Linked DNA regions of Homo sapiens: region 1 is linked to region 2. The links are contacts of gene promoters, found by promoter capture Hi-C in blood cells and fetal thymus (Javierre and others, 2016). All regions are on one chromosome and are shown on one strand. Each heading gives the region's core, a stretch centred on a gene start or on the middle of the fragment in contact. The rest is flanking DNA. Distances are from core to core; before and after follow the strand shown.

Evidence for each region. The method cuts DNA at HindIII sites, captures the fragments that hold promoters and counts their contacts. A CHiCAGO score of 5 or more calls a contact.
Region 1: a contact is called between the fragment with the promoter of XKR4-AS1 here and the fragment with the promoter of RPS20 in region 2, in 1 of 17 cell types (erythroblasts). The highest score is 7.1, in erythroblasts.

The regions. Positions count from the first base shown.
Region 1 is chr8:55,519,385-55,522,608 of GRCh38, reverse strand. XKR4-AS1 (XKR4 antisense RNA 1) reads left to right here and starts at 1,631. Exons shown (of 2, transcript NR_134323.1): 1 at 1,631-1,674. The region is part of intron 2 of XKR4 (XK related 4); the gene reads right to left. RefSeq lists an enhancer at 1,523-1,612. The HindIII fragment of the contact is 12,203 bases long and covers 1-3,224 here.
Region 2 is chr8:56,072,651-56,075,825 of GRCh38, reverse strand. RPS20 (ribosomal protein S20) reads left to right here and starts at 1,320. Exons shown (of 4, transcript NM_001023.4): 1 at 1,320-1,445; 2 at 1,667-1,766; 3 at 2,058-2,131; 4 at 2,554-2,772. The coding sequence starts at 1,443. The coding sequence ends at 2,736. It overlaps SNORD54 (small nucleolar RNA, C/D box 54), which reads left to right and starts at 1,925; the gene lies at 1,925-1,987. CERNA3 (competing endogenous lncRNA 3 for miR-645) reads right to left here and starts at 1,234. Exons shown (of 2, transcript NR_149110.1): 1 at 946-1,234; 2 at 552-819. The HindIII fragment of the contact is 15,741 bases long and covers 1-1,592 here.

The DNA of each region.
Region 1 (3,224 bases), core at 382-2,881, 550 kb after region 2:
TTCCATGATTGAAGGGGATATGTGATCACAAGAAATTAGGGACTACCTGGTTTATCTTTCTGCTTGTAAGCAGGATTAAATTTAGTTTATTCACAAAAGACAGTTTATGCATTCTTAAAAATAAAAGGTGTGTGTACAACATCCTTGGCAATGTTTCTTGTGATACCTGGTGCACAGTTTGTCCTAGTGCAATCTGGCACTCTTCCTACAGCCTTTATCTGTTCCTTATTGCCTTTCCCACAAAAGAAGACATGTCCGTTCCCTGTCTTCCATCTCTTAGCTCTTCATAGATTAAAGATTGTGCTGAAATTATTTTTCAATCACTCCTCTTATTTTATCATTTTATTGGTCCCATTTGGTTGGTATTCCCTCTAAAAGTAGGCTTCCAAATGTTAAAAGTCATTTGTATTGTTTTCCTCTACTCTTGTTCCACCTCCTGTATGGCACAGTTCATCTCTATCGTCCAGATGTGGCCAGGGCTCACCTAAAAACACACTGGCCTCCTTTAGGAGAGAGCTCTTATGGGAAATTCCTCTGTCACAGAAATGGTATGCCAATCTGCATCGCAGCTGGCTTCCCTAATGAGCTGAACCAAGACTCACCAAGACTAAGAATGGTCTCATCTATTTTAAAGTCTGGCTGGCTTTTTCTTCACCAAATCTATTATTAATCATAACCAGGCCCCATTAAAGCCTTTCTCTTCTTTTGGATATAATAGAAGATATGTTGATTGCCAAGATCTTATAATGGAAATGGTACTTTTTATTCAAAAATATTTTTATAGGGAAGAGCTGTTGTCTATGATCCTTGAAAAATGAAAAGAAAGTACTCTTGTGGAAAAAGACCACACTAATTGACAGGAAATACATTCAACCCCAATAATTATTTCTGATACATCCTCGTTGAGTAAGGTGAACTCCAAAGAACAATTATTGATAAGGAAAATATTTTCTAAGAGCCATTTCTCATATTTCCTCCCAATAAAGCCAGCAGAACAACTAGACATGCTACACTGGGACCTTCAGGTTTTTCTTTTCTTTTCTTTTTCTGGCTAGCACAAAAATCTTTAATTGCTGTAAGTCACAGGCAGCTGTGGTGCTATTTATAGGTCAGAGACCAGTATACAAAGGAGTTTCTGATAATTTAATTTCTAAGCAACAGAAAACATCGACATCAATTATAAAACAAATTCTGGAGTGAAAGAGGGGGAAGGAGAAAAAGTTTAAAAAATGACAAAAGAAGGTGAGAGAAATGCGAAATAAAAGGTAATGGGATAATGACTATGCGAACATCTTTATTATCACTTGGGGATTTAAGAACAAAAGATTGTGCCTTTTTTAATTTCGACGCTTTTGTAGGGCATAGAAGCCGCTCATATCTCTCTTCTTATGTGTACCACTTGCAAACGTGTAGCTTCTCACTAGACTATGCTCCCTTTGTGCTTTTAAACGCGGCGCCCAGCTGGGTTTCTGCCCGGGAACGCCCCTCCCCTTCCTTCACGCCGGCCTCCTTCAGCACAGCTGGGGCACAGCGCCGCCTTCAGGAAGATAACTGCACCGCCGGTCAGGCTCGCGCCAACCAAAGCGGGGTTGTTAACGGGGTGGTCAGAATGGTTCTACCAGTTTGCACAGGAAGACGTTACTTAAGGCTGCTTTCCAAAGCAGTGAAAAAATAGTAAGAAAACTTTAAGTACACAGTATCATGAAATGATGATATGATCTGTTGTCAGATTTAAAAGAATAGAAACATTAGCCTCCTTCAAATTACCCTGTAATCTCTACCCCTTTTATTGCGTGTCCTAAAAGAGTAATTCAGCCTGCGTTTGACACTCCAGGAACTTGTTAAGATGATACTGTAGCCGTAGAAAAATGAAGGCTTTCTATCAGCTTTGCTCTCTCTATATCTTACAATTTAAAAAATCTATACCAAAGGGAAATTTCATGTCCCTGTGATACCCTCTTTATGAATTCTCTGCTTTAGCAATGAGAATTTCTCTTCTTCCTTTGTTGATGATGATGATGATGATTTTTTGAGACAGAGTCTCACTCTGGCTGGAGTGCAGTGGCACGATCTCAGCTTACTGTAGCCGTCACCTCCTGGGTTCAACCCATCCTCATGCCCCAGCCTCCTGAGTAGCTGGGACCATAGGCATGTGCCACCACGCCTGGCTAAGTTTTGTATTTTTAGTAGAGAGGGGGTTTCACCATGTTGGTCAGGCTGGTCTCGAACTCCTTGCTTCAAGTGATCCTCCTGCCTTGGCCTCCCAAAGTGCTAGGATTTTAGGCGTGAGCCACCGTGCTGGGGCTTCCTTTGATTATTATTTACTTTTTCTTCTGTTTAACAATTGATTTTTATAAGACAAATATATGCTGAACAGAAAATATGGGGTCATATACAAGTTAAGACCCTTACAACTTCACAAATTCACAACTGCCACAGAACACTTAGTTCTTTTGCTCTTTATACAAATAATACGAGCTCAGTTTTTTCCAATGCCAAGACAGACTTCCTCAGCAAGGCATGGCCTTATTCTTAGAGTTCTCTGGAGCTTCTGATATGCAGTGGCACAGTGCTGGAACACAGGACTCTGAGCACTCCTTTAGCTATTAATGTGTATTTTAAGTTGTTATTTGAAAATAATTTCAAACTTACAGAAAAATTATAAGACTAGAAATATTATATTGAACATCTATATTTCATTTGCCCTAATTGTCAACTGACTTTATCATTGCCCTCTCTCTGTCTCTGTCTCTCTCTCTCACCCATTTGCGATTAAATGCATACATTATGGTCCTTTATCCTAAAATATGCCAGTGTTTATTTCCTATGAATAGGGGCATTCTCTTACATAACCACATAAAGTTATCAACTTCAATCAATTTAACATTGACACAGTACTTTAAAAAAATCCACTATCAGTATTCTAGTTTCACCAATTGACATTAACAATGTCCATTCCAAAATTTTTCTCCCCTATACAGGATCAAGTCTAGAATCAGGTACTACATTTGGCTGTTGTATTAATTCAGTTTTCTTTAATCTGGATTATTTCCAAATACTTTCTTTGACTTTATGACACTGACATTGTTTGAAGAGTATAGTACTTGAAAATAAGAAAAAAAGAAAAAAAAAGGTGTTCCTAATTTTGGGTTTACCTGCTGCTTCTTCATGGTTACATTGCTAGGCAGGAATATATAAGTGACATTGAACAATGTATTTTTTCA
Region 2 (3,175 bases), core at 71-2,570:
CTCACGCCTGTAATCCCAGCACTTTGGGAGGCCGAGGCGGGCCTGAGATCTGGAGTTTGAGACCAGCATGATCAACATGGAGAAACCCCGTCTCTACTAAAAAAAAAAAAAAAAAAAAAAAAATTAGCCGGGCATGGTGGCGCATGCCTGTAATCCCAGCTACTCCGGAGGCTGAGGCAGGAGAATCGCTTGAACCCAGGAGGCGGAGTTTGCGGTGAGCCGAGATCGCGCCATGGCACTCCAGCCTGGGCAACAAGAATGAAACTCCGTCTCACAAAAAAAAAAAAACAAAACAAACAAAAAAAAAAAACAACAAACAGGCCTGGACGGAGGGGTCAGAGCTCTGTCCCTCCCCATTTCAGAGTGTTTGAGCAAATAACTCTTTCGGCTCAGAGCTTCAGGTGGAAAGTAATATGAGATGATTTTACTCTTCTTTCTGCCCTGTATCAAAATCCATCTCAGTGATTTCCACGTATTTAGCCCCGGCTTCTTGCTCAGGTGTAGGTGAGCTCACCCTGCGCTCTCTCCCACTGCTCAGCTCAGTTGACCATTCGGGTTTTCCACTATACTTGGTCACTTATGTGATTATGAACAGATGTTCAGTATTAAGAAGACCCTGGGGGATCTTATCCAATGACTTTATCCAACAGAAAGGAGATGAGGTATCAGGACTGGGTGGCTAGCCAGGTTCCAGGCCGGGCCTCAGGATAGCTGCGCAGCCTGGCATTTTCGCCTCACTTTCCAGAAGGACGAGAAGCCAAGTTCAGGTCCTTTCCAGAAATAGATGTAGATACTTCTGCTGGACTGGGAAGCCAGGAGCTGAAATATCACAACAGGACGTTTCAGGCTATGAAAAATAACTGCTTACTAATTCTAACGTAAGTTATCCAGATTACGAGAAGCATTTCTGCCAATGCTCATGTCAGCTAAGCTCAGAGAAGTTACCTCATCCTCAGAGAGCAACGAATGGTATGGTCTATGTAGAAAGCAAAATTTGCAACGGAAAAACCAGAGTTCGTGTGCACTTTATGAGGAAGAGGGTTAGGTGCACCAGACAGAGGAGTTTCTCAGGTTTCCGTGTCGCCTGTTCTCTCGACCAGGTGGCCCTCTCGGCGCAGGCGGGGACCCCACCCTGCGGGACTTCGGCTCCTCCGTGCGGACAGGGGGCGCCCGCAGCCGTGCCTTTCCCGCCAACTCCACTAGTGCTCCAGCTCGCCCTTGTGCGACCGCCTCTAGGGCCCGGGATATTTCCTGTTCCGGGGCGTGTGGGACCCGGATGCAAGCGTGCTATATAAGCGTTGCTCAAGTCCCACCCCTTTCTTTTTGAGGAAGACGCGGTCGTAAGGGCTGAGGATTTTTGGTCCGCACGCTCCTGCTCCTGACTCACCGCTGTTCGCTCTCGCCGAGGAACAAGTCGGTCAGGAAGCCCGCGCGCAACAGCCATGGTGAGGCGGCAGTCGGCGGCGGGCGGCGCAACGCAGGGCTCGGGCGCCGGGGGGACCCCGGTTTCGAGTTCGTGCTCCTGAGGGCAGATGCCGGGGCGTGTAGGGGCGGAAAGGCGCTCCTGAAATGGTGGGGAAACGCGGGAAGCTTCCGGAAGCTGCCTTTCTCCAGAAGTGGCAGACCATTTTTGGCTTATTGTTCTTTTTCATGTATCTAATAATAGGCTTTTAAGGATACCGGAAAAACACCCGTGGAGCCGGAGGTGGCAATTCACCGAATTCGAATCACCCTAACAAGCCGCAACGTAAAATCCTTGGAAAAGGGTCAGTGCATTCGTTATGCGGGGGGGAGGGGGAATTGGGCGAAAAGCGACGAGCTTTACTCGTTAATGTTAGTGTAGAAGGTGGACTGCAAGAACTAAAGTGACAAGTTACTTAAAAAAGTAAAGCGTGGCTTAAAATTGCTTTTACTGTCATACAGCTGGCGATGAGGAGGTACCTATTGTGTTGAGTAACGGTGATAATTTTATACGCTATTCTGAGCCAGCAGAAGTGAAGGCCTTAAGCCGATTTTAATTGTTTCGATTATACTGAGAGGTCTTTTATTTCCTGTAGTGTGTGCTGACTTGATAAGAGGCGCAAAAGAAAAGAATCTCAAAGTGAAAGGACCAGTTCGAATGCCTACCAAGGTAAAGTAAATCGGAGGGGCAGGAAGTAGGAGTTGCTTCCGGATGTTGCATAAATTCAGGTTCTTTAAGGAGTTCGGCTGCCAAAATTGTTAACACTGATGCTGTCTACAAACGCACATAGAAATCGGTGGTAGATTGCGGTTCCTAGTAAGTAGCTAATGTTTAGATATGATTGTTGAATTATTGTTGCTGTGTTCTTGGTGTGCTTTGGTGCTTAACAGGCGCAAGCTCTAAGGGTGGTGTCCTAGCACAGTGAAAACAGACCTGGCATTTTCAACCCATGGTACCTGAAAATCTATTAGTGTAAATTGGAATCATACCAAAGGGAAACTAATGAAATGATTAGAAGTAATGATTTTCCAGATGTTCTAGGGATAAGTATAAAACGATAAACACTTGGTTTCCTTTGTCTTTTGTTACAGACTTTGAGAATCACTACAAGAAAAACTCCTTGTGGTGAAGGTTCTAAGACGTGGGATCGTTTCCAGATGAGAATTCACAAGCGACTCATTGACTTGCACAGTCCTTCTGAGATTGTTAAGCAGATTACTTCCATCAGTATTGAGCCAGGAGTTGAGGTGGAAGTCACCATTGCAGATGCTTAAGTCAACTATTTTAATAAATTGATGACCAGTTGTTAACTTCTGTTGGTTTTTATTCAGAATACTGGCAGATTTTAGGAATATAAAGGTGTACTATGAGACTTCCACTTTTCAGGTGGAATATATGGGTATCTTAGAGTGGTCTATCCTGTTTTCGTTGTCGTTTGAGTCATTTGAAAACTGGATTCCGTTAACTACATAATATGTGAGACCTGACTGGTTTTATTGGACACTGGCAGTTTATAACTTTGGCATACTCTAGATAAATTCTGATTGGTATGGGGTGTTAAGGTTTCTGGGGCGTTTGTAATGCACACCCATGGTTGAGAACCTAGTGCGCTAGTAGGCACGTGTTAAAAAGCTAGTAACTAATATTTTTAAATTAACCAAGTTTAACGTCCTTAAAAAAGGATTAAGTGGCAGAGGCAGGACTAAAACTAAG